Regions from separate parts of the Homo sapiens genome. Here regions 2, 3, 4, 5, 6 and 7 are each linked to region 1. The links are contacts of gene promoters, found by promoter capture Hi-C in human tissues and cell types (Jung and others, 2019). All regions are on one chromosome and are shown on one strand. Each heading gives the region's core, a stretch centred on a gene start or on the middle of the fragment in contact. The rest is flanking DNA. Distances are from core to core; before and after follow the strand shown. Region 1 holds the start of PAWR (pro-apoptotic WT1 regulator). Region 2 overlaps OTOGL (otogelin like). Region 3 overlaps OTOGL (otogelin like). Region 4 has its middle 37 kb from the start of OTOGL. Region 5 has its middle 56 kb from the start of OTOGL. Region 6 overlaps SYT1 (synaptotagmin 1). Region 7 has its middle 56 kb from the start of PPP1R12A-AS1.

Region 1 (3,890 bases), core at 972-3,471:
ACTCTGGTACTCACATACCACCTTTTATCTAAGGACTGCAGGCACTTTCACAACACTCTCACGATGCAGGAAGTATTATTATCCCCATTTTATATGTAAGTAAACAGAGGCACAAAAGTTAAGCAACTTGCCCAAAGCCACACAAGTCAGTAGCAGCCAAAATTCCTGACTCAGAACCTATTAACACTAAGAGAACTGGTCTAAGCCATGCAGTGATAAATTTATGTGGGGTGTTATCCTAGTTCATTCAAAGTCTATCGTTTTTAGGCTGATATTGTATATTCAATACCCCATCTGTTATAATTTCCTCTTCTCCCATACACTTCTTAGAGACCAAGGACTTTAAGCCCCTAGAAGGGACTATGTTTACTGAGTGCCTTCCTCGAATCAAGCACATTTTATGTGCAGTGTCAGTTCTTAAGACAGCTTAAATATAATGTAATTGGGAGGCTGAGAGCAGGAGAATTGCTTGAACTCAGGAGGCGGAGGTTGCAGTGAGCTGAGATCCCGCCACTGCACTCCAGCCTGGCGACAGAGCGAGACTCCGCCTCAAAAAAAAAAAAAATGTAATTTTTGCTGATTTTATAGTACAGAAAGCTGAGTACCAGATAATGTAAACATGCCCAAGATCTCTCAGCTAGCTGACTATACCCTCTTTCCACTATATCCTGCAGCCCTTCCAGGAGAAAAGTCCTCTGATAAGTTACAAAGCATATGAATGTGAATACGTTTAATGTCCCAGCCTCCCTTACTCTCCTTAAAACTCAGAAAACAAACTAATGAATATGTAATTGAGAAACTTCAGGTGGCACACTGGGGTTGGTACTAGCTTAGGTAAACAGCCGCTCAGCCTTTTAGACCTATTCCCAACAAAAGCTTTTAATTTTCTAAGGATTTTTCCAGAGCTCTCGCCATACGTTTCCCACAACAGCCAGACCAAAGACCAAAACTGTCTTTCCCTGAGAAATATAGAGCATGTGAATCACTTTCTTCTGTTCCCAGTTCTGTGGCAGGCAAACACTGATTGCTCACTCATCATGTGCTACCTGGGCAAAACAGGAATATTAAGTAGGAAGAAAGGTTTATGTTAGGTAAGAGCGTGACTTAGGGCTCTCCTACTTTTTTACAAAATGGAGACCTGGCATTTGTAGCCTCCCACAATGATGTGCCCTGACATTACTTGGATATAGAAAGGTCAGTCTTAGGTGCGTCAGTGACAGCCCACCCCGCTCTGATCCAGAAATTTCAGATGACTTGCATCAGAGGATAAGCCTCTGGCATGTTAATAATGAAAAAATAGAGACAATCACTGCCCCAGCTCATCTCAAATTAGCATCAGTGCAGCGTTAGTACTTTGGTAGGGAGCTTTGCTGCTAAATTCATTCTCTGTAAAGAGGAGAGGCAGAGACAGGGTTAAGGGGAAAACTCCAAGACTGGAATCGCCAATACAATAAACTGTCGAACTGAGTTTTTTCTCCCGCAACCCTAAGATACTAGTAAGTCCTTCCTCTTAGCCAACCCTTTTCACCAGGGCACCGCAGTTTTCTTAGAAGGAGGGTGCTGGGTTTGTCTCAGGTCTTTCTATTCTCCTGCCCGCTGCCCTAGTACATCTGAAAAGGGAGCAGCGACTAGGAAAAGAGACACGTGGGTATTTTCCCATCCTGTCTAGTCATTCCCTGAATCATCACAAGTTATCGCACTTTTCCCCTTAGCCAGCAGCGTTCGAGACTTTCTCTCAAATAATACGGTCTTGTACTTAAAAGGAAGAGTGGTGGGAGAAGAGAGAGGCGGAGAAGACAAGCAAGAAGGGCGTGGAGTGCCGTTCCCGCCCCGGAGTCGGAGGCGCCGGGAGGCCGGACGCCGCGAAGCTGCTAGCCCAGGAATGTGCCGTCTAACTCGCAGGCCGCGGGCGGAGCGCGGCGGGCGCGCTGTGGTCTGCGGCGGGAGCGGGGCAGAGGACGGCTGGCGCAGGGCAGGCTGCAGCGGCGGGCCGGACGCGACGCCGCGCACCTGAGCGCCGGGGGCGGGGCGTCAGCGGCCACGACCCTTCCCACCGCGCGCCGCGCCCCTCGCGCGCCGCCTCGGCCTTTTCCGCTCGTGCTTCGGCGCCGCTCGGCTCCCTTCCCGCCCCTGGCTCCCTCCCTCCCTCCCTCCCTCCTTCTTCTCCCTCCCTCCTGTCCTGGGATTGCCTGGAGCTCCGCACCGCGAGTTTGCCGCGGCACTTTCCGCGCGGCGGAAGAGCGCGCGCCAGCTTCGGCACACCTGGGAGCCGGATCCCAGCCCTACGCCTCGTCCCCTACAAGCTCCTCCAAGGTAAGGCGCTCGCTCACACCCGGTCCTTTCCACGCTCGGCGGGACAGCTGGGTCCCCGCCTCCTCTGCGAACCGGCTAGGAGCTCCGCGCCTCGCCTTGGGAGTGGGGTTGTAGCTGACGGGGACCTCGGACCGGCGGTGGCTAGAGCGCGGAGCAGGCGATACGACGAGCCGACAGGTGGCGGGTCTAGCCCTAGTATCTCGACCGCCGCCGGCGCGGACCTTGGTGGGGATGGGGCGGGCGGGCCGACTTGGGGGTGGGGTCAGTCCTCTCTCCTCCCTTCTAGGGGCGGCGATCGTCGGGGTCCGTACTGTAGGTGCGTGGGAGAAACTTTGCAGGGTGGGGACCCGGCGGCTGCTGGCCGGTAGTGACTGGTGGGCGCGCTCGAGGACTCCAAGGGGCGCAGCCCGGGGGCAGACCCTTGGGTCGGGCGGGGATCTTACGCTTCCCTTACCCGCCCCCTTTTGTCTTTCACCTCAGCCCCGCCGGCTGCTGTGGGAGCGGCGGCCGTCCCTCTCCTGGAGGTCGTCTCCTGGCATCCTCGGGGCCGCAGGAAGGAAGAGGAGGCAGCGGCCGGAGCCCTGGTGGGCGGCCTGAGGTGAGAGCCCGACCGGCCCCTTTGGGAATATGGCGACCGGTGGCTACCGGACCAGCAGCGGCCTCGGCGGCAGCACCACAGACTTCCTGGAGGAGTGGAAGGCGAAACGCGAGAAGATGCGCGCCAAGCAGAACCCCCCGGGCCCGGCCCCCCCGGGAGGGGGCAGCAGCGACGCCGCTGGGAAGCCCCCCGCGGGGGCTCTGGGCACCCCGGCGGCCGCCGCTGCCAACGAGCTCAACAACAACCTCCCGGGCGGCGCGCCGGCCGCACCTGCCGTCCCCGGTCCCGGGGGCGTGAACTGCGCGGTCGGCTCCGCCATGCTGACGCGGGCGGCCCCCGGCCCGCGGCGGTCGGAGGACGAGCCCCCAGCCGCCTCTGCCTCGGCTGCACCGCCGCCCCAGCGTGACGAGGAGGAGCCGGACGGCGTCCCAGAGAAGGGCAAGAGCTCGGGCCCCAGTGCCAGGAAAGGCAAGGGGCAGATCGAGAAGAGGAAGCTGCGGGAGAAGCGGCGCTCCACCGGCGTGGTCAACATCCCTGCCGCAGAGGTGAGCCGGGCGGGGGCCGCAGCCGGACCGGGCCGGGGCGGGCAGCTGCCTCCCGGTGTCTTCCTCCTGGGAGCTACCCGGGGCGCAGAGTTTACCTCCCCTGGCTCGTACTTGTCCCTTCACCGAGTTAGGCAGGCAGGGGGTGATGGAGTTTTACTCTGAACAAATGCTTCCTGGGAAGTTCCCCAAACTCAGAGTAGGACACGTGCTTTTCAGGCTTCCTGGCCAGGTCTCAGATCCAGGATCCTTTTTTACCGTGGTAGAAAGACAACTTATGGCTCCAGGACTTGCCCACCTGGACTTGGCTGACTTGGCCACCTGGACTTGGCTGTTTATGCTTGATCAGTTAGAAAAATTGATTAATGGTGACGACATTCTCTAGGGTCTCACGTGCCCATGTGAAGTTACCAGTTTATTTCTCCTTTCTTACCAAT
Region 2 (3,890 bases), core at 668-3,167, 470 kb before region 1:
AAATTTTTAGCCTATTACACAGTCGCCTCACAATTCAGCCCTCAACTGTCTTTGGAGAATCTCCACCTCCCCACCACTCCCACGGACTTGCACCCTTCACTCTACTAAGGCTGAATTGTTCGCCATTTGCTGGTAAATCTGTTTCTTTTCCAACTCCGTGACTGTTCCCAGGGAAAAGACTAGAGCTAGAAGAACAGGGCATTTGCTTCAGCACAAAGTTTAAAGGGATGCCAAAAAAACTCAGTCATCAAGGGAAATATTTTATGCAATATTTTAAAAAATCAATGCAAAAAAAGATAAAATATCAAAATTTAAAATAAAGGCAATATCAGTTATTCCTCCCCGAAATTCATTCTGCCTAGGAAAGTCTTACTTAAATATGATGACTTGACTTAAATATTTCTTCTCTGAGGAGTCTCTCCTACCTTCCCAGAGCACAGCATTTTTTTCTGCCCTCTGACTCTGTTGCCATAAGTCTCCAATTCGTGCTTTATTTATCTCACCATGTACTCCTCTGAACTGTGAGAATTTTTAAACCATCTCTGCATCCCAGTGATTGATATACATTAGGAATTCCACTACTATCTGCTATTATATATGAACAAATAATAGGTTACAGTAAATATAGTGAGATATATGGAATTTGGAATCAGAAACAGAAATTCCAATTCCTTATCTACAATTTATATATTTGTTAATTTTATGGAGCAGAGTAAATCTCTGAGCCTGTTTATCTTTGGAATGGAAATGAACTTACTTCTTTGGGGCTTTCAGAAGTTAGGTATTTATCAAATCTTTTGAAAGAGAGGCCAAATAGAATAGACATTTATTCATTCACGTGAATTCCAGTGAAGAAGGTGAAAAGAGAGAAAGGACAATATGGTTTACTTGGCAAAAAGAGCTACATCTTTGAAAATAAGAGCAAGACTTAGATTTATGACTTAGATTACACAAATGAAAATAATTTGTGAAAAATCAGCATTTAGAGGAAGAGCTTGTCTAATAATGTAGAAGGTGAATTTTAAATATGTATGCATGTGTGTATGTATATTGTCATATTTAAAATAAAATATGTAGAAACAAAGAAAGAATGAAAGAAAGGGAAGAGAGGGAGGAAAGGAGGGAGAGAGAGAGAGAGAGGAAGAAGGGAGGGAGAGAGGAAAGGAAAAGCTACTATACTACACTGTACATGCTATCTTTAATATCTCAGAGAAGACAAATAGCAACAATAAAAAGCATCTTGCAAACAAAAAGGAAAATGTATGAAAATATATATTTAAAAATTGGGTATCACTAATCCAGCAAATCTTGTACTCAGAAGGAAAGCACATTACCACCATCTGTCTCTCAATTCACATATTGGCTTTACAGCAGGAAGGTGTATCAGCCAGGGTCCTGACAGAACACAGATGGCACAATCAGAAGGAGTAACTGAAGAAGGATTAGTGAAGGGACTATGTACAAATGTATGGATGGGATTAAGGGAAACCAACAACTATTGATGAAGCACCTCAGGACTGGCAACAGTGGAAGCTATTACTACATTTAGGCCTAAAGGGGTAAGAGAAGGAGCAGTTACCAGAACTCAGGGCAGCTGTAGCTGTAGCTGTAGGAAAGGTCTGGGTGCTGGATGGGATCTGTGACTTGTATAAATCCAGCCACTGCCAAACCTCAGGCCCGCAGGGCAGGAATCAAACTCTCTTCCCCCTTACTGGTGCATCCAATCAACTAAACTCAAATGGAAGACAGAAGAAACAGAGCTCAGTTGATCCTTTTCATAGAGGTCAGCCTGAGATAAAAAGCAAAGTAGATAGTGCAAGAAAGAAGAATGTAAATTACTGCAGGTGGGTGGAAGGAACAACTTGAGAATATCCAGTTTCCAGACAGCAGAAACCTTTGTCATATATCTCTGTACACACATCCCACAACCACTAACTCATCACCTCAAATCAGATATAATACTTTGCACATAGTTGGCCCATGATAAATGCTTAATGAATAAAGAACACAATGGTATATATGTCCACAGCAAAGATTAGAATAAATGGAAAAGATCAGAAAATAGGAGAGAAGCAAAGCACATGTCATTTCAATCTCTTTAGATCTTCTTTCCAGTTTTACAAATCTCTAAAGAATCCTAGGAGAAGAAAAAGTACTGGACAGACATAAGACAAGAAATATCTTGCAAATTTTTTCAAGACCCATTTAGCACATGCCTCCTACTCTAGTATCCCACACAGGGAGAAAGCGCTATCATGAGACTATTTTCTGATTTTATTTATTTCAACACCATTTCCTCATTTTATTTTATGCCAGTCCCCTTCTATCCTTGGAATACCCTCTCTATTCCTGTCCATTCATCTTTGTTGAATATCCTCTTCATACCAAGAAATTTCCCCTTTTTTCCTCCTCTACATTAATGCACAATCAGTAATGCACAATAAATCATTATGTATATATTTGCAGAACCATGAGCCAATTAAACCTCTTTTCTTTATAAATTACCAAGCATCAGGTATGTCTTTATAGCAGTGTGAGAATGAACTAGTACACTGGGTCATCTCAGTGTCTCACAGATCAAAGACGCTGCCATGGGCTCATGAAGTGGTGTCACCCAGATACAGGAGCCAGCCTGACAGTCTCACTGAACAGGGATGCGTTAATACAACATCAACAAGGATAATGACTGCAATGGATTAGAAGACTCAGGGTACATCAAAAGCCATGAAACAGTCAGAAATGAACATGTGGCCATTATTACCTACCTTAGAGAAATAAAAGGATTATAAGACAATACTATGAGCAATTATATGTCAACAAATTCAGAAGCTTAGATGAAACAAATTCCTAGTAAAACACAAACTACAATAACTGACACAAGAAGAAATAGAACATTTGAACAGACTTATAACAAGGAAAGAGACTGAATTCTAATCAGAACCTCCCACCAAAGAAGACTAGAGGACAAGGTGGCTTCACTGGTAAACAGCACAAACATTTAAACAAACACCCAAAATTATTTGCTTTGTAATGGTCTTCTAGTTTTTTAGGTATGTATACCCTGAAATAGTACCTTGAAGGAGAAGAGGAAAGGAATCTAACAAATTCAAAATATACTACATGATGAAGTTTTATAACTAACATCTCCATATTCTTCACAATTATACAACAATATAGATATCGTTAATCTCTGCTTATAGGTGAAGAAACTGAAGCTAGATAGCCAATTTTCACAAAGTTACACAGTAGAGCCAAGATTTTGGGTACCCTATTCTTGAGGGGAAAAGCACACATCTTATAAATTCCCACCTTCTATCTCTCAGTCCCCATCTTTCATCATTTGTGGTAGATTATTGGCCTCAATTCTTCATAGCCTCCCCTTTTATCTGTGGCCTTTGTCATGTGACTTCATTGTTTCTCCCATTGAAGAATGAGAGTATATCCTTCTCCTTTACCTTGGGCTCAGCCCTTTGACTTTACCAATGGAATATTAGCAACATAGCATAACTAAAAGCTTGGAAAATGCTTGCAACAGTTGGGCTTGCTCTCTTGCTCCTCTGTCATTGCCATAAAAACATACCCAACTGGGCCCATTGATCCCAAAAGAAAAATGAAAGACATGAAGGACAAAGCCAAATCACCCCAGCCAAGGCCAGCCTAGATCAACTGAGAGGACACGAGAGAGCCTAGATGACATTAACAGTCACCCAGCTGAGCCCAGCTGAGATCAGCCAATCCTTAATTGACCTGCAGATCTAAATAATGCCTGTATAAAAAATGGCAGCAATAAAAACTCTGATTTCAAAGTGCCTCCACTATGCCATATTATTCCTAAGCCTGATACTAACTACCCCTATGATCTCAGAAACGTTGATCTGCTTGAACATCAA
Region 3 (3,890 bases), core at 928-3,427, 430 kb before region 1:
TTTACAAGAAAAAAACAAACAACCCCATCAAAAAGTGGGCGAAGGATATGAACAGATACTTCTCAAAAGAAGACATTTATGTAGCCAAAAGACACATGAAAAAATGCTCATCATCACTGGCCATCAGAGAAATGCAAATCAAAACCACAATGAGATACCATCTCACACCAGTTAGAATGGCAATCATTAAAAAGTCAGGAAACAACAGGTGCTGGAGAGGATGTGGAGAAATGGGAACACTTTTACACTGTTGGTGGGACTATAAACTAGTTCAACCATTGTGGAAGTCAGTGGGGCGATTCCTCAGGGATCTAGAACTAGAAATACCATTTGACCCAGCCATGCCATTACTGACTGGGTATATACCCAAAGGATTATAAATCATGCTGCTATAAAGGCACATGCACACGTATGTTTATTGCAGCACTATTCACAATAGCAAAGACTTGGAACCAACCCAAATGTCCAACAATGATAGACTGGATTAAGAAAATGTGGCACATATACACCATAGAATACTACACAGCCTTAAAAAATGATGAGTTCATGTCCTTTGTACAAACATGGATGATGCTGGAAACCATCATTCTCAGCAAACTATCGCAAGGACAAAAACCCAAACACCACATGTTCTCACTCATAGGTGGGAATTGAACAAGGAGAACACATGGACACAGGAAGGGGAATATCACACACTGGGGCCTGTTGTGGGGTGGGGGAAGGGGGAGGGATAGCATTAGGAGATATACCTAATGTTAAATGATGAGTTATTGGGTGCAGCACACCAGCATGGCACATGTATACATATGTAACAAATCTGCACGTTGTGCACATGTACCCTAAAACTTAAAGTATAATTAAAAAAAAAAAGAAAAGAAATCACCAGGTGAAGGAAAATGTTAATGAAACAAAAGGCATTCACTCTGTCCTCTTACCTGGAGCCTGGTTCAGGCTCTGGACTCCAGGGAAAGTGAGCAAGAGGGAGAAAAAATAAAAAATAAAAATAAAAAAATAAAAATAAAATCCAGAGTGCAAGCAAGGACTCAACTTGCAGAGCAACTGCATAGATTTCTGCATTTGGAAACTTGGTCTTTCCAAGTCATAGAAATGAAAACAAAGCATATATGAAAAATGACTATCCTGCTGTTATTTGAGTGTTTGCATACTGTTTCCATAAAGAAGCAGAAACCCAGTGTCAGACTCGTGCATACTCAGAAAGGTAAAAGACAGCATCTGGGGAATGACACTAGAGAAATGTGCCTCATTTCTTTTGCTTCTTGCCAAGCTTACCTTGACATTTACTTCTATAAACATAGTCAGTAAAGACTATGAAAAGAAATTATCTTCTGAATTTACATCTGGATTTTTTCTCAGCTGCCACAACTTAACCAGATAAGAGTTTTCCTCTTCATTTCTATAATAATACTAATAATTAATGATACAAAGTATCTTGTATTGCATCTTATTCCTAACTTCTTCCCTGACTGCTAGTCTCATTTTCTTTTTGCCATAGCACAGTTAAATGAAAAAGAACAATTATTTTTGTCTTTCATTGATTATTCCAGTATGTCATAATGGTTGCATAAAGGAAACACAGGGACACTTAAAATTATTTTGATCTTGATGTGACAGTGTATTTATTTCTTTTTTTGCTTATACATTGGAATTTTATCCTAGAACTAAGTTCAGAAGGTAGAGGTATATATGTATATTAATTCTAACTGTGATCTCAAGTACTTTTTTTTCTTTTTAGTTAGTTAAACAACTCAAAGTTTTGAAAAGGATGGATTTGGCAATTGTTCATTTTTTGTGGTATTTTTCTTAATCAAAAATGATTCAAATGAGACAGTTTGAGCCTCAGATGGATTTGGTGCTTGAATTATTTATATTGGCCATATGATGATTTTGCACTCATCTCTTTCTCGTGTTTACAACATCATGTTCTGAAATAAAGTACAAATTATAAGTGTGTGTCACTGTGCATTTCTCTGTGCATTTCTTGCATTCTTACTCCTCAGCAACTCAGGCACACCTCCAATTACTGGAACTCAATACAAATTGTTCCTGCTTAAGATTACTAAAGGATAAAAGGATTGGCCAGTAGTCCCACATAAACCCACGAAGAACCTCCCACTATGGGTTTAAATGATTCTACCATCCTCATAATGTCAGTTAAGCTGTGTTAGCCTAAATATTACATTTTAATTTTAGACAATCTACATGATACGAAGAGAAGTGTTTTAGTGTCAATTTTTCTATTTACTTGGCCAATTAGAAAACCAAACAAGATAATCAAAACTGCTATTATGGTTTGGTTTTTTATTTTGTTTTGTTTCGTGGGGTGGTTGATTTTGTCTAAACTGTATGAATCCAGTTTGTGTTATATAGACTCTCTGCTCTAGGGAGGGATTAGAGACTTCTATATAATGGTGTCTAAGGATGAGGAAGTTGTTGCAGATACTTAATGTCTATACTTGCAGTGTGTTAGAGTCAAAAGTTCTTGTGTTTTTTCTCCAAAATATCTGAAGGAGGAGCTGAGGAGGCAACGGTCTGCTTGAAAGGTAGCCTTTGTAGTCTTGTCTTAAGCTGCATACACATAGAAATCGTTCTGTTTTTATTTAGTGTTTCCTTGAGGTGGCTTTAGAGATTGTCATGAGTCTCCTTGTTCCTGAGCCAGATATTCACAAACAGGTGGTTTATTATGAAGTATTCTCAGCAATAATGCTTGTAAAGGAGTGAGGAAAGCAGGACAGGGCAGAGGGAGAGGTTGACCTCCAAGGCAGTTGTAACAGAGGCCTCAGCCCTTCTCACACAGTTCTCTGAAGCTTGAATATCCCCTCAGACCTGAGCTGAATTGAAGCAAGGAGCTCGGCCTTTGTCCCTCCACACACCCTACCCTAAATAACTAGTCATAGGAAATATGCTGCCTCCAAGAATGGGTTATAAACTTGCTCAGCCAAAAGAATTTCTTGGGGAAGGAATCAGTTGTGAACTCTCAGCACTGGACACTTCTGGTTCTCAGGGGAATAAGGGTCTTTGTTCTGAAAGCAGGATCTGGACTATGCTCCATAGTGTCTACTACAGGGGTAGAGATAGTCCCTGGGTTCTGTCACTGCCTATAAACCCAACTCTGCAGACAAATTCATGAAGAGGTGAGATTTGTATAGTTTGTGTTTTTATATCGAGGGAATCTTTTAACAAGTCAGCTTACCGCATTAAAAATCTAAAACTTCTCTTGTGTAGCAATATTCATATTGAAAGGCATTTCCATAGGTTAAAACTTTAATTTCTTAAATCAGTATTTCTCATACTTGGATTTTTGGAGAGATCCTCCAATGAGAGAGAATCCTTAGGATTTTTTTTCAAGAAGTTTGCACATTATTCAAGTATAGGAAATACTGGAAGTAGTGGAAAAATCTGGGCTCAAGAATCAGAGTTGAGTTTAAATCTTTTATGTGTTGCTGCTTGCTAATTATATAACAACAGGTATGTAACTTTTTTTTAATCCTTTATGCTGTCATTCACAAGGTGAATGTGATGAATATTAAATAAAATAACCCAGCTAGGATTCAGCATAGTGCCTGGCATACTTAGAAACTCTAATTAAATGATATTTGTTGTCATTATGTCAGTAAATCTTGCAGTTGCTTTGATATAACTTGGCACACATCTTTTTGCATTATCTGAAAAAAGATGTTAAGAAGAAGAAAATTAGAAATCTATCACCCCAGCTACCCCATCCTATGATTGGCCAAATGTTGTGGTGAAATAATCAAGCTAAAGACACAAGCTCAAAGATAACCAGCATATTCAAACTCTGCTACTCCAGAAAAAAAAAATGGTAAAAAGTCTAAAGAGCTTCATTTAATAAGATCAAAAGAATTGAACTA
Region 4 (3,890 bases), core at 829-3,328, 370 kb before region 1:
ATGCTCAGTTTTAAAAGGTGGAAAGTGATTTCACTTCTAGTCATATTTTCCACATTACTTCTGTAGAAAAATAATTTCTGGAACTCTGAATGTCAGCCACCACTGTATTATACCACAATGCCCCTATATTAAATTAAAGCGTTCATTCTCAACAAAAGATTTTTTCCCTAATGCTTTGAAGATCATGAGCTATGTATTTCCAGAGTATGTACTAATAAACTGCTTAATATTACATATATTTAAAAAACAGGGTATTTCATGGAAGAAGAACAAAATATAGATTATTTTGTTCTCTTCGTTGATAAACATTAACAGTGGGAATGGATGACAGGGTAAGTGTTATCCCCAGCGGATAAAATGGTAGAAGAGATAGCTAGAGCATATGAGTGATGCAATCAAGAAGTAAATACAAGTCCGCCAAACACATGAGGACATTATTTGGAGACTTTTTGCTTGCATATGTTCACATAACATTTCAGCTGAGTAATGCAAGACTTTAACTTATGCATATCTGTGGGATAGAGGAATCTCTCAAAGAATGAAGAGAGACTTTATTCAAAAGTCTACAGTGGAAAATTAGTCTTCACAATGGGCTTCCTTTACAGAAAACTACTGGGTTGGCAGTATATATTCTATCACACATGGTTTTCTAGGGTTTGAGTCAGCTGGTCCAACTAGGAATAACAATTACAGCACTGTGCAACAGTAATTGCTTGCTGTGGCAATATTGAAGCAAAGTCGTGTGTCTCCCTCCCACCCCAGGAAAAAATTTTTAACAAAAGGGTATGACTATGACATCTTTGACTACCATGTCAATGTTCATGAACAATGTTTCAGCATACATAAATGAAAGGCAGCCACATGAAGAGCAACATTACAATGTAAGAACTCCTAACAAATGTGCCTGTGGCATCTGGATAAAGAAAGAAGAGAATAAAGCATACTTGAAAAGAATTTCACTCCGGTCAAGATTCTATTTTTGGAGTGAATGCAGTAAAGATTTTGATCAATGTAATAATACATGTTGAGTATGAAATGAATAAAAGTACCCTCCATACATATAAAAATAAATTTTGGATGAAGAGCACAGGTGGGAGATATAAGCAATAAAAAAGAGAAACCTTTTTATTCTACTGGGGAGATAACGGATTTATTCTGGGTATATAATATCTGAAATATTCAATCCTTAGGACAAAATCAATTATGAAAATCATTTGGCAGCACTTCTAAAACCAGTATAGGCATGACCCATGACCCAGCAACTCCACTCATACACTGTCCATCAGAAAATGTGTACAAGAATATTCATAGCACTATTTGCAGTAGAAAAAATACAGGAAACAACCCAAACATCAATTCAAGAACAGGACAGATAAATAGTGGTGTATCTACACAATGATGTTCTAAAATATAATAACAATAAATGAGCTTTTCTTTTCACCACTAAATAAATTAATCTTACATATATGCTGTATGATTCTATGATCCTATTTATATAAAGTTGAAAACAGGCAAAGCTAACCTGTAGTGTTAGACTCTGAATATTGATTGCTCTTTTGTGAAGTGCCGTGATGATATGAGGGGGTTTCTGGAGAGCTGAGAACATTCTGCTCTTCCATCTGCATACTGGCTACACAAGCATGTTTGCCTTGTGAAGGTTCATCAGGTTCTTTTCTAGCATTTGTCCACTTTTCTGTTGTGTATTATACTTTCATTACTTAAAGTCATATAAAGCAGACTCTGGATTCCAGCCTGACTCCATGTCTTACTAGCTGCATAGCCCTGAGCAAATTAAATAACCTTTCTTAGCCTCAACTTTCCAATTTGTAAACAAGGATAATTATAGCACCTACCTCAAAGAGTTATTATAATTTCATAAGCCAATGAGCCTGGCACAACATCAGCATTCAATAAATGTGAGTTATTATTATTAGTTAGTGCACGTCATGAGGCAGAATGAGTCTTCATCGGTGAGCTATAAAATAAAACAACCTGAAAGCTAGAGTAGAAAGGTCATCAGAGAGAAGGCTCATGGCAAATCATATAAGGAAGAAGACCACTTCAAAGCAAAAGCCCTTAACAATGTCAAGTGCTGAAGAGGGGTCAATGAAGATCAGAAAAAAGATCTGGCAATATAGAAGCCATTGGTGAGCTTTGCTGAGCAGATCAATTTGAGTTGGGGCAGAAGTCAAGTTGTAGCAAGTTAAGGTGTGAATGAAAGGTGAAGAAATTGAGATGTCTTTCAAGAGATTGATAATGCAGAAGAAAAGCAGATTGACAAAGCAAGGTCCAAAAGGAGGTGACGAAAAAAAAAACAAAACGCAACATAGAGTTATCTTGAGAAGGGAGAAGCACATGTCTTCTTGTGTGCCCAGAGGAAAAGAAGAAAGGATGAGTGCAGATGCTGAGCCAAGTAGGCAGGTAGAAAGGATGTTGCAGGGCATTCTTACCAGATGGTTTCAGTTTTCTCAGTGAAGAAAAAGGCAACCTCATACACTAAGAGTGAAGACAGAATTGGCAGGATAGAGGGCATAATGAGATTTTCACAAAATAGATAAATATTGAGGGAATGGGAGACACCCTAACCAGAAAACAAAAAATATTGCCAGTGTCTGCACTCTCATGTTCATTGCAGCGTTGTTCACAATGGCCAGGGTATGGAATCAATCTAGGTGTCCATCAATGGATGAATGGACAGAAAATGTGGTATGTATACACAATACAATTCAGCTTTAAAAAAGAAGGAAATCCTGGCATTTGCAACAGCACGGATGAACCTGAAGGACATGATGTCAAGTGAAATAGGCCAGGCACAAGAGGGACAAATGCCACATGATCTCCCTTATGTGTGGAATCTAAGAAACTTGAACTCACAGAAGTAGAGAAGTAGAGAATGGAATGGTGGTTGCCAGTGGCTTGGAAAGGTGGGGTGGCTGGCGAGATGCTGGTCAAAGAATAAAATTTCAGATAGGAAGAATACATTCAAGAAATCTATTGTACAACATAGTGACTATAGCTAATAACAATGTATTATATTCTTAAAAATTGCTGGGAGTACATTTTAAGTGTTCCCACAACAAAAAAAAGGATGTGAGGTAATGCATATGTTAATTAGCTTAATTAACCATTAGCATTAGGGTACTTATTTTAAAACAACATGTTGTACACAACAAATATGCACAATTTTTCTCTGTCAATTAAAAATATGTATGTAAATAAATAAATATTGCCAAGTAGTGTTGAGGTCCCAGCTGTGCTGTGAACCATGGCTGTCATAGCACCAACCCACAAGCTTATGTGATCTCTGGCAGAACTTTGCATCTCTGAGCTGTTCTTATAACACTTTTTATAAGTATTTTTAAGATCCCAGGTGTAGAGAGAAGACAGATGGTTAGACTGATCTGGGATAAGTTTTTTGCACCTTTGGTGCAAAGAAAGGATTCGTAACTTCAAATGATGGAAACTCAACTCAATCTAGCTTAAACACATAAGAAAATTGATTGGGCTACATAATAGGAAATTTCAATATGTAGCTGATTCCAGAAGGTTAACTTTTGTCATTGGCAATCTGTCTTCTTCTCCATTTCTTGACTCGGCTTTCCTTTCTATTGGCTTCTTTTTCAGGCAAGTTCTTCCTTATCAGTGGCAAAGGAGAACACTTGAATCTTAATCTATTGTTACAATAGCTATTCCTCACCCCACTCCTCCACCCCCAAAAAACAGAACACATCTTTCTCACTAGCTTCAAAAATTATTACAAGAATGACTCCTATGGTACCTTCTGGGATCACAGACTCCTCACTAAGTCAATCATTGTAGCCAGGAAATAGAGTACTCTGGTTGGCCACCCCTGGGTTGGTAGGCAGGGTCAGTCTCACTCAAATCACATG
Region 5 (3,890 bases), core at 757-3,256, 350 kb before region 1:
ACCAAGTGTTTGAGAAAAGAAAGTAGACTAGTGCGACTATAGTGCAGAGTTTACACAGAGGGAATTCAGCAAAAAAGGAGTTTGGCCAGATTAAAGAGGCTTGATCCATAGCAACTTTTTGAGCAAGGAAGTAGAAAAAATAATGTAATATTTAGAGAAATTTAATCTGAGACCAATTCAATGGAATCCATTAGTCTAAGGAGCCCAGAAACGCAGTGGGGGGATTCAGTCTACCTCCTCGTGTGGAGATTTTTACAAGGAGTTCGCTTGTAGTAAAGAGCAGTGTACTGCCTGCCACAAACTCAAATAAAAGAAAAATCAGTATTTTAAATCTGATTGTTTTCCTGTACAGTAATAATGGAAAGCAGAAAACACTGCTGCAGTGTTGCTTGTCAAACTCTGGTCTTCATATTTTCAATATGAGGTCAAATGATGGAATCTTGAGTCATCCAGTGGCCTGGTTGATGACCAATTCTTCTATCTAATGACTAATTTTGGCATTTAGAAAAAGGCTAAAAATATGCCTGTGATCATAGGCAGAAAGCAGTTATTTTAAAAAAGAGACTTTGGGGCCAGTTGCACAAAATTATAATGAAACCATGGTAATAACAGGCAATAGCTGTAAGGGTTAACTCATAAGTTACGAATATTTTAGGGCTGGGTGCAGTGGCTCATGCCTGTAATCTCAGCACTTTGGGAGGCTGAGGCAGGCGGATCACCTGAGGTCGGGAGTTTGAGACCAGCCTGACCAACATGGAGAAACTCCATCTCTATAAATAAATAAATAAATAAATAAATAAATAAATAAATAAATAAATACAAAATTAGCCAGGTGTGGTGGCGCATGCCTGTAATCCCGGCTACTTGGGAGGCTGAGGCAGGAGAATCGCTTGAACCGGGGAGGCAGAGGTTGCTGTGAGCTGAGATCACGCCATTGCTCTCCAGCCTGGGCAACAAAAGCGAAACTCCGTCTCAGAATATTTTAACATCAAGTTCTGACGTTAGTATGGCACTATATAGGGAGGCCTAAGTCCCCAACTGACCTATTTTTGTTAAATATAAATAAACATATTCAGGCCCTTATCTTTCCAACTTCTCTTTGGCATTTTCATTTGCCAAATATTTACTGGACACCTGCTATATATCAGGCACTGTGCTAAGTCCAGAGGATTCAGCAGAGAACAAAGTAAATGCAGCACCCGCCATCTCAAAGTTTACATTCCTGCCTGAAGTCTGCAATGTGGCAAACTTCTCCTAGGCTGCCAGGACACCACTCTGGAGCTTTTCCCTGCCTCCCTCATCACTCTGTCTCCTTCACTGGCTTCTTTTCTTTTGCTTTTCTCTTAAACATTGGTTGCCCCAATTCTCAGCCCTCTTCTCTTCTCCCTCAGTATTCTCCCAGAGAAATCTCCATTTATTCCCATTTTTGTATTTCATTTGTATAGTACAATTACATTCAGATCTAGACAGATATATAGATTACTATGTGCCAAGATCTGTTATAACCACATTACAAATATTAACTCATTTAATCTTTGTAACAACGCTTTGAGGTGGATACTATTATTTTACCCATTTTCCAGATGAGGAAACCAAGTCACAAATTGGTTAAGAAGGTGGCATAACTAGAGTTTAAACCAAGACAGACCATGACCTAGACCAGTATGCTGTGCACACTCCCATGTCTTCAACCTGTCACCTGTGTGTGGATGCCTCCCCAATGCAGATCATTAAGTTGTAATTCTCTATATTCAATCTCATATTTTATAATGGCTGCTAGACATCTGTACCTGAACTTTCCACACATAACTTAGAAACAATGTGCTTTCTACTCTGAATGGTCGTGTCGTCCCAAAATTCTTGTGTTGAAATCTTAACCCCAAGGAAATGGTATTAGAAAGTGAGGCCTTCTGCTCAAAACTGCTGCAGCTTTCCACCTCCTGGTATCTGTGTCGGCAAATGGCCCTTCTTGCCTTGATCCACAGGGACGGAGAAGGGGATGTCATTAATATTTTGTTCATTAATACTGATTAATTAATCCAAAAAAAGTGAGGCCTTCTGGAAGGTGATTAAGTCATGAGAGTGAATCCTCATTAATGGGATTCGTGCCTTTACAGAAGAGACTCCAAAGAGCTGTCTTGCCCTTCTACCATGTGAGGACATAGCATGAAGGGGCCCTCTATGCACCAGGAAACATGTCCTCACCAGACACTGAATAGACTCATGTCTTGATCATGGACTTCTCAGCCTCCACAACTGTGAGGCATAAATTTCTGCTGTTTGTAAGCTATCTAGCTTATGGGATTTTGTTATAGCAGCCCAAACAGACTAAGACAGTACTCAATTTATCAAATTCCTTTTCTTTCATGCTCTACATTATATGTACAGTTCCTTATCAATATCCTCTTATAACAGCCTCCTAACAGGCCTCCTTAATACAGCAGTTCTCAAAGTATGATCCAAGGACATCTAAGAATTTTTGAGACCCTTTCAGGAGTTCACAAGATCAAAATTATTTTCATAACAATACTAAGATATTATCTGGCTTTTTTACTGTGTTGACCTTTGCACTAATGGTGCAAAAAACAATGGGTGATAAAACTGCTGACAACTTAGCATGAATAGAATAGTAGAAGCAAACTATACTAGAATTTTATTCTTCACCACCATACACTCCCAGTTTAAATTCTAAGAAGCCAGATTCACTAAAGAATATCTTTGATGAAGTAGTAAAATATATGAATTTTTCAAAATATTGACTCTTGAGTACATACCTTTTAAATATTCTGTGAGATGAAATAGAAAGTACACATAAAGCTCTTCTGATCTACTGAAACAGTCCTTGTCTCAAAGAAAAGCAATTGTGTAGGTGTTTGAATTGTAAGTAGAAGTAGCCATTTTTTCAGAGAATGTTAGAAAAGGATAATATTCATACTAATTCAGATATTAGAAAAATTAGAATATTGGAAATCTTAACAAATATGATTTTTTTGTATTATATATTGAAATGTGTCAACATTTGGAAGTTCTACATAACTTGGGGAACCAATATTTTCTAGATGACCAGTGCATTTGGTTACAAAATCATATATGGGTGAAAGGTTCGTTCAAAATTCAATATACACCAATGGATTTTAATCCATCACAGTAACAAATATGGTTTCAGATTCTACATTGCAACTAAGCATTATGAAACTACCACTATTGTATTTTGGTTTACTAGCAAAGAATGTCAGATACTCTAAGCTTGTAGGTCCCCAGCTATCACACAAACCCACTGCATGCAACCACTTGGGCCCCTTAGTATCCCCCTCCATATGACTCGGAAAGCAAAGGTAACCAGTGCAAAAATGAAGTTTCATACTGATTGCTGCACCACGAGTAATGACTCAGGAATTCTGTGTCTAATGCCAGCAACCCGAAACTGTAGAAGGCTAATTTTTTAGCTTATAAATGAGGTAAAATCTCAGACTGTTCACAGTTCTTGACAGATAATGAATGATGAGAAAATTGTTTAACTAAGTGAAGTGGTCATGTGAGGCAATCCTGGAAAATAGACTAGAATGATTCGGGCAGAGATGGCCTAAGGAGTATGATTATCTACAGGTGATAGGCAGCTACTGAAGGTGTTTTAGTACAAGTATAACACAGCAAAAGTGTTACCTTATTAAAATTAATCGGAGTGATATGCTAACTGCCAGTGTAGAGCTAGACAGAGTGTTTACAGCGAAGAAGGCATTGTGATAAGGCTTCTAGTTAATCTCTGTTACAATTGAATAATGTAATTATAAGAATCATTAACATTATATATATATCTCACTTGTTATGTGAACAGCTTTAAATACATTAACTCACTAAATGTGTAAACAACTTTATAAGGTAAATATTGT
Region 6 (3,890 bases), core at 521-3,020, 310 kb after region 1:
AAAATATTCCCTTTATGAAGGGTATCAGTTAGATATAGTATTTGAAGATTACAAGGTGGGTAAGAGAGGGTAGAAAGAGCAGAAATGCTGAAAATGAAGATAAACAGAGATAAATTAGGATAAAATCAGGTTAAGATATTAGCCTTGATTGTGGTTTGCAATAATATATCTATCTCCAATCTCAAGCTCATTTCCTGAATAGGCAGGTGACAGGCGGACATCTCTATGTCAGATATGTTTAGAATGGCTCTATTAAATGCTGGAGTAGGTTATTCTTCCCATAGAATGTCTTTCATATATGTGAATTTAACGTTGAGAGAGAAAGCAAGAAAGATAAGGAGAGTGCACACCCGTAGAGAAGTGAAGTAGGAGGTCACAGGGAAACTGAAGTAGCAATGAGAATGCTATAGGCGCAACTACAGACCCATGGATGCACGAGGCTAGGCATTGAGGAGACTTGGAAACTAATAACTTCAGGAACAGGCACTGAGACGTTTTGAAAAGCGTTATGATGTTACAGAAATTATGGTTCTAATAGGTGTGTAAAAGATCGAAACACCAGGGAATACCAGGAATACAGATTTCTTATTTTTAATAAAAGCAAAATAAGCATGGAAGATAGTTCATACAATAGAAAACTAGTAAGTGGGAGTTGAAAAATGAGAACACATGGACACAGGGAGGGGAACATCACACACCAGGGTCTGTGGGGGTTGGGGGGCTAGGAGAGGGATAGCATTAAGAGAAATACCTAATGTAGATGATGGGTTGATGGGTGCAGCAAACCACCATGGCATGTGTATACCTATGTAACAAACCTGCACGTTGTGCACATGTACCCCAGAACTTAAAGTATAAAAAAAAGAAAAAGAAAAAAGAAAACTAATGAATACTAAGGAAGGAAAAAAAAAAACCCAAAAATGTATTTGGGGAAAACCCTGGTAATTTTCAAAGGAATCTTATAATTGTGAATTTTTTGTTGGAAATTTATTATTTAAATAAATATGTGTTTTTGTAAAGAATCTAATAACTTCTTCTCTGGAGAAGGATGTGGTACCTTTCTTTAGGAATGGTTTAAAGTAATTTTAAAATAGCAGGGTAATGCACCATACAACCTTTAAGGGGTAATTCAAGGCCCCAGATGAGCCAGTGTTGGTTTAAAGTAGCAGCTAGGCAGCACTGCAGCAGTATTAGAGACTGCAGCAATGATATTCACCAGCACTGCCATGCACCACCTTCTGTGGGCCAGCCTGAGTATACATAACAAAGTTTGTTTTCCTTTTGACTACAAGATTTTTCTAGCTTTTTAACTTAGTCATAGACCACTTTATCCAGCTAACTGACAATAACAATTTTAGGGGAGTTATGAATCTTGGTGTATGTTTTCACCTAAGACACCAGTGGCACATTCTATTAATAGCTTTATTTCCTTTATTTAGTATATTCATATACAACACATTTTCCTGAATTAAAAAACAACAACAACAACAACAACAATGGGTAATTGTATAACCACAGTTGGTTGATGCTCCCTTCAGTTGGTAACTCTGGCCTAATACACTGATTTGTTCTAAATCCTATGATAAACTGCATATACAAAACCAGTTTAGTATATAATGTGGCTCTGATACCATCTTGAATTATAAATTATAGCATGCTACCACCAGTAAGTTTGGTATCATAATTTTAATTTTAATTGTGGCTGACAATTTTGGGGGGAATAAACACGCATAACTAGGGCAATCAGATTTGAAAAAAATCAATGAATATACATAAAGCTTGATTGAGCATCCACAAATACATAGAAAATAAATTATGCAAACAATCCTAAGAATGCATTTCCAGTAACTGATTATACAATCCTTATCTATGTAGAGTTTGGAAAAAAAAATCTTTTTTTGATAGTAGTTTTTTCCATATGGAAATCCAGTGGTCCTGCCCAGAAGCAGTGGCTCATGCCTGTAATCCCGACACTTTGGGAGGCCGAGGCTGGCAGATCACTTGAGGGCAGGAGTTCAAGACCAGCCTGGCCAACATGGTGAAACCCTGTCTCTACCAAAAACACAAGAATTAGCTGGGCATGGTGGTGGGTGCCTGTAATCCCAACTACTAGAGAGGCTGAGGCAGGAGAATCACTTGAATCTAGGAGGCGGAGGTTGCAGTGAGCTGAGATCATGCCATTGCACTCCAGCCTGGGTGACAGAGTGAGACTGTCTCAAAAAAAAAAAAAAAAAAATCCAGTGGTCCCTTCCATTAGCTGCTTATTATAAATTGCTTGGTGGGAATAACTACTAGCAAAAGATAGTAAATAATCTAACAATAATTCAAAGATTTGGGTATTAAACACCCATACATAAACAGATCAGGAACATAACATCTTACGTAACTCAGGAGAAAGCCAACCAAACCTATCATATAATAAGTGATGACGTTTTTTCACATCGGCCAACAATAGAAAATCAGCTTTCATTCTTGTTTTCTGCTATGCTTCTATTCAAGCCTTGAAACAATGGAACTATAAATTTAGATCATTTTGGCTGTCAGTGGATGGTGCTCCGGATCTCCCAGGTGAGAGTGTCAAAAAATGTTTGTCAAAAGTAGTGATTCATCTCAGTGCCATAACTTTGTGTCTATAACATACATAGCAATGGAATGTAAAGTCATTTAAAATATGTTTTGCTGAATTCACATACATTTTACATGCTAGTGTTAAGCTGAGTATTAAGCATTTTTGTACCTAGTTCAGGTACAGCCACTCTGATTACGTGCCCTCATAAGTAATGTAAGTTGTCACTTATTTTAATACTAAACTGTTCAAATAGTCTTGTTTTTGATATCTAAGAATTACAGAATTATATATATGAAAGATTCTTTTTGGCATATAAATCTAATCTTACAAAATTTTTTATATTTTGTGTATAAAATATAAAGCCTTTTACACAAAAGCTTTTATATTTGCAGTTGCAAATGAGCATATGTTTAAGAGGTTGTTAGGCCAAATAGCAATACTTGAATCTGCTGGATATTTTCAAAGCTTGTTTTCAGTTCCTTGTTTATTGTATAGTTCAGCACTCAGTACAGAAACATGATGCATGTGGAGAATTTGCTGTAACTATTAAACTCAATTTCCTTAATTTATGAAAAATTTTCCAGATTAACGTGATCACCTCTCAGCCTACTCTCAATATTAAGTTTCCTAGAGGAGGGTAAATCATCCACTTAAATAGTTAGGACACAAATAATACTTCTAAAAGATTCTAGTTTCCCCACAGAGTTACCAAATAATAGGTATGATCAAGGACAGGTTATATGGTTGGCGCCATTTTTCACAATTTAGTTTTTATAGTGTTCTAGAGATGAATTCATCTTGTTAGCTCATCAAAATAATAAAGAGTGATTTGCATCTTTTAGAAAGGCCCAAGTGCTTTACATGATGAAGAACTGAAATGCAATGTGAACATTCTTCTGTAGTTTTTTATTTTCATGTGTCTGTGAGTAATCTAGGGATTCACTCCCTATAAGATGAAAGAATTTGAAAGCTGTTTCAACAACAAACAAATCTAATTAAATTCTGATCTTCCACTGTGTGTTTTGTCTAATACTGTAAATTCTGCAAGGGACAACAACAAAATGGACATAAAGGGTAGTTAGAAAAGCAAAAGGAGATTTTCTTTTGTTTTGTTTTTAGGAAAAAAACCCACTTTTTATTTAAATAACTATATCTTGAATAGCCATCTATACTATATAAACTTATTTTGCCATTGTACCATATTGAACAGCATGAAAATATTCATAGTTAGGGAGGAAGTGGAAATACAAGAATGTTTTGGTCAAGGATGAACCACATGTTCTATGGTGGTCCTGTAAGATTATAATGATGTGTTTTAAAT
Region 7 (3,890 bases), core at 470-2,969, 300 kb before region 1:
GGATGGGGGGGGGGGGGCGGTGCCAGATGAGAGAATAAAAGCAGGCTGCTGGAGCCAGCAGTGGCAACCCTTGGGTCTCCTTCCTCTGGGTGGGAGCTTTGTTCTTTCGCACTTTGCAATAAATCTTGTTGCTGCTTGCTTTCTGGGTCCACCCTGACTTTATGAGCGGTAACACTCACTGCAAAGGTCTGAAGCTTCAGCTTGACTCCTGAAGCCAGGGAGACCACAAACCCACCGGGAAGAAAGAACAACTCCTAGAGGCCCCGCCTTAAGAGCTGTAACGCTCACTGCGAAGGTTTGCAGCTTCACTCCTGAGCCAGGGAGACCATGAACCCACCAGCAGGAAGAAACTCCCAACACACCCGAACATCAGAAGGAACAAACTCCGGACAGGCCGTCTTTAAGAACTGTAACACTCACCGCGAGGGTACGTGGCTTCATTCTTGAAGTCAGTGAGACCAAGAATCCACCAATTCCGGACACATTACCATTGAACTTTCAGCCTCCAGAGCTACGATAACAAATTTCTGTTATTTTAAACCACCTAGCTTGTAGCACTGTATTTATTTAGAGTCAGAGTCTCACTCTGTCACTCAGGCTGGAGTACAGTGGCGTGATCATAGCTCACTGCAGCCTCAGTCTCCCAGGCTCAACTGATCCTCCCACCTCAGCCTCCTGAGTAGCTGGGAGTACAGGTGTGCACCATCATGCCTGGCTAAAGGTATACATATTTAACATATATATTATATAGTATATATTATATATCATTTAATACATAATATATATTACATATAATCATATAGTATATATAAATATATGTTTATATTTTTAAAAAAAATAGAGATGGGTCTCACTATGTTGACCAGATGGGTCTCAAACTCCTGACCTCAAGCAATTCCCCCATCTTGGTGTCCCAAAGTGCTGGGATTACAGGCATGAGCCACCACTCCTGGCCTAAAAATCTTTTTTTGTAGAGATAGGGGTCACCTTAGGTTGCCCAGGCTGGTCTCAAACTCCTGGGTTCAGGTGATCCTCCCGCCTTGGCCTCCCAAAGTGCTGTGATGTGATTACATGTGTGAGCCACTGCACCTGGTCTGTAGGACTTTATTACAGCAGCCCTGAGAAATGAATACAGTGTCCAGTCATCTTGGATTATGAGATGGCTTGCTACAGATGTCAGAACACAAGATACGGGCCTTGGTGACTTCCTGGAATACAGCTCTGGATAAGCTCTCGTCTGGGGAGGTTTACATAATAAAGAAACAAGTTAGAGTCTTGAAGCAAGTGTCATTTAGGGTTTCTATTACTCACAGATAAACCTAATTCTGATACAAGCCATATACCTCTTCTACTAGGTGCTACCAAAGGCTGTGGCACCTAATTCTAGTCTTCATTGACTAGCCTGGTTCTCCACTTATGTGGAAATTGTTGGAAATTTGATAAAGCTAATTATATGTTCTAGCTTTGCCAAGGAAGACAGTAAAATTAAGATAGTTGTTTAGGATTGCTGGAAACTAGAGGCAAATGCCTCCAGGGTTGAAATCATGGGTTATTATGATTAAAAATGATACTTGCATAGCACAATGGATGAAAGCACAGACTGTGATATCAAATACCCCTGGAAACCAATTCCAACTCTATGCCTCACTAGCCATCTAAGTGATTTTGAATAAGTTATTTCACATCTCTACTCCTCAGGTTTCTCATATATAAAATAGATGATAAAAAGGGCATGTTAATGAATTGCTTAATTTATGATGAAAAGCATGAGTGAGATGATGATAATGACCTTATAGACTGAAGAGGGTATTAAAGGAGAAATATACATAAAGTGTTTAAAACAGTTACAGACACATAGTAAGTTTCTGCCTGTCACCAGTAGAGGGTCTTGACTGCAAGTTTTCCAAGTTGTTGGCGTTTTGAACAAAGAACTGGACAAAACGCCCAGCAAAGCAAAGAAAGAATGAAGCAACAAAAGAACAAAAGCAGAGATGTATTGAAAATGAAAGTACGCTCCACAGTGTGGGAGGGGCCCCAACAGCTGCTCAAGGGCCAGGATACAGAATCTTCTTGGGTCCAAATACCCACTAGAAGTTTCCCATTGGCCACTTCATACTCACCTCATGTAAATGAAGTGGTAGCCCGCAATCAGTCTGATTGGTTGCAGAAAGCAGCCAACCAGAGGCTGAAGTGAAATTATAAAGTTCACACTCCTGTGCAAACATTGCTTTTTGCAACCAATCAGAGGCTAAGGTGAGTTACAAAGTTATACCTCTATGCAAACAAAGACTCCGCCCGCAATCAGTCTGACTGGTTGTGGACAGCAACCATTCAGAGGCTGGAGTGAAGTTACAAAGTTGCAAACGAAGACTGGCAGTATGATTTGTTGCCGACAGCCAATTTCCCATCGGCCGCCCAGAAAAGATGGGGGGTTTGCAAAGGGAGTAGCCTCTGGTCCTTTTGTTACTTAGGCATGGAAAGTTAGGGTTTTCCTTTCTTTTTAGTTCTAGGAAGTCGGCAAGAAACAGCCTTAGGTTCCCTGCCTCTAGACCCTGTTCTCCTGCCTCATTCCCACCTAGGGCTTTTGCACATGTATTTCCATTGCCATGGTTGTTCTTTTAACATCATCAGACCCCAGCAAAGACACACTTTGTGTCTGGTTAATTCACATTCACTCTATAATCTCAGCTCAAAGTTCATCCCTTCATAAAACCCTGTCTTGGTCTCCCCTAAAATTCAGCCGCATATCACTTTATGATTTTTTATCATAGCTATTAGTAAAATTTGATCTAGGATAATTATTAGTGTTATTATTTGCTTGATTTCTGTCTTAACTTCTAGGCTAGCACTACTCACAGTGTGGTCTCAAAGCTCACGGGTGCTTGTCTGCGAACTATTTATTACTCATCATCCAGGAGATAAATACAGAAACTAGATTAAGTATTTAGAAACTTGTAAAACAATTTGACATAGTATTCTGAGCTTGTATTTTGTATGTTTGATTTTTTTGTTTGTTTTTCTAAAAACTCATTTTTATAAAAAGCTAGAAAACATGTCTACAATAATTTTTTAAGTTTTTAACTAATCTTTCATTACAGATTGTTCAAGAAGCTTGGTTTAGGCCAAGGATTAGCAAACTCTCTTTGTAAATGGTGAAATAGTAAATGTTTTGGGATTTTCAGGTCACATAGCCTCTGTTGCAACTATGTAACTCTGACTTTGTAGCATAAAAGCAGCCACAGGTAATACACAAAAGAATGAATATGGCTGTGTTTCAATAAAACTTTATAGTCAAAAACAGATGGTGGGCCAGATTTGACCCACGGGGTGTAGTTTGCCAACACCTGTTACAGGCCATAAACTCCTGAGGGCAGATATCTCATTTGTTTTATTCATCATTGTCTTTCAATGCCTATGACATCCCTCACATAATGGGTATTCAATAAATATTTATTAAAAGTTAGTCTAATCTCTAAAAGGGGTGCAGAACTTGCTTGAATTGACATGGAGGTCATATGTCCAAGGCCACCAAGCCATGGATGACCATGAAAAGGATGTTAACTGCCTGGTTAGTAAGATTTTTTTTAAACTATGGATGTTCTAAGGATCAAATACATTCTGGGAAGCAATGATAATCACCAGTTGCTTGAAGAAAGAGGATGTTGGCAATTGGCTGGGTATTAAGGAAGCTGTGAGAGTTTGGGTTGATGATACCACAGGCACATGAGGAAGGCTGCAAATTCTATTTCAAGGCAGCTCTGAGCCTGGTGAGTAGGTAGCACAAGCAAAGCTTACCCTCCTGGAGAGAAAAAATTATGCACAAGAAGTAGTCATTAAAATTAAGTTGTGTCAGACATGCCAAAGGAATACTGTGGTGATCTGATCCCTTT

Evidence for each region. Contacts are between HindIII fragments. The study calls those that stand out against the background at their distance.
Region 2: a contact is called between a fragment that was not itself captured here and the fragment with the promoter of PAWR in region 1, in 2 of the 25 tissues and cell types used here (IMR-90 fibroblasts and aorta).
Region 3: a fragment that was not itself captured here is called in contact with the fragment with the promoter of PAWR in region 1 in 2 of the 25 tissues and cell types used here (mesendoderm cells and thymus).
Region 4: a contact is called between a fragment that was not itself captured here and the fragment with the promoter of PAWR in region 1, in 2 of the 25 tissues and cell types used here (adrenal gland and mesendoderm cells).
Region 5: a contact is called between a fragment that was not itself captured here and the fragment with the promoter of PAWR in region 1, in 4 of the 25 tissues and cell types used here (H1 embryonic stem cells, IMR-90 fibroblasts, aorta and 1 more).
Region 6: a fragment that was not itself captured here is called in contact with the fragment with the promoter of PAWR in region 1 in 2 of the 25 tissues and cell types used here (bladder and mesendoderm cells).
Region 7: a contact is called between a fragment that was not itself captured here and the fragment with the promoter of PAWR in region 1, in 1 of the 25 tissues and cell types used here (H1 embryonic stem cells).

What each region holds. Positions count from the first base shown.
Region 1 is chr12:79,689,295-79,693,184 of GRCh38, reverse strand. PAWR (pro-apoptotic WT1 regulator) reads left to right here and starts at 2,221. Exons shown (of 7, transcript NM_002583.4): 1 at 2,221-2,313; 2 at 2,794-3,456. The coding sequence starts at 2,941. PPP1R12A-AS2 (PPP1R12A antisense RNA 2) reads right to left here and starts at 3,153. Exons shown (of 7, transcript NR_187531.1): 1 at 2,789-3,153. RefSeq lists silencers at 1,924-2,223, 2,994-3,513. The HindIII fragment of the contact is 10,737 bases long and covers 1-3,890 here.
Region 2 is chr12:80,163,445-80,167,334 of GRCh38, reverse strand. The region is part of intron 1 of OTOGL (otogelin like); the gene reads right to left. Among named protein-coding and RNA genes, the nearest start is that of OTOGL, 66 kb to the right of the region's middle. The HindIII fragment of the contact is 4,487 bases long and covers 1-3,890 here.
Region 3 is chr12:80,120,015-80,123,904 of GRCh38, reverse strand. The region is part of intron 1 of OTOGL (otogelin like); the gene reads right to left. Among named protein-coding and RNA genes, the nearest start is that of OTOGL, 22 kb to the right of the region's middle. The HindIII fragment of the contact is 4,573 bases long and covers 1-3,890 here.
Region 4 is chr12:80,061,071-80,064,960 of GRCh38, reverse strand. No RefSeq gene overlaps it. Among named protein-coding and RNA genes, the nearest start is that of OTOGL, 37 kb to the left of the region's middle. The HindIII fragment of the contact is 5,744 bases long and covers 1-3,890 here.
Region 5 is chr12:80,041,450-80,045,339 of GRCh38, reverse strand. No RefSeq gene overlaps it. Among named protein-coding and RNA genes, the nearest start is that of OTOGL, 56 kb to the left of the region's middle. The HindIII fragment of the contact is 9,563 bases long and covers 1-3,890 here.
Region 6 is chr12:79,383,334-79,387,223 of GRCh38, reverse strand. All of the region lies in intron 9 of SYT1 (synaptotagmin 1), which reads right to left. Among named protein-coding and RNA genes, the nearest start is that of MIR1252, 34 kb to the left of the region's middle. The HindIII fragment of the contact is 4,110 bases long and covers 1-3,825 here.
Region 7 is chr12:79,989,113-79,993,002 of GRCh38, reverse strand. It overlaps the pseudogene SNRPGP20. Among named protein-coding and RNA genes, the nearest start is that of PPP1R12A-AS1, 56 kb to the right of the region's middle. The HindIII fragment of the contact is 5,137 bases long and covers 1-3,890 here.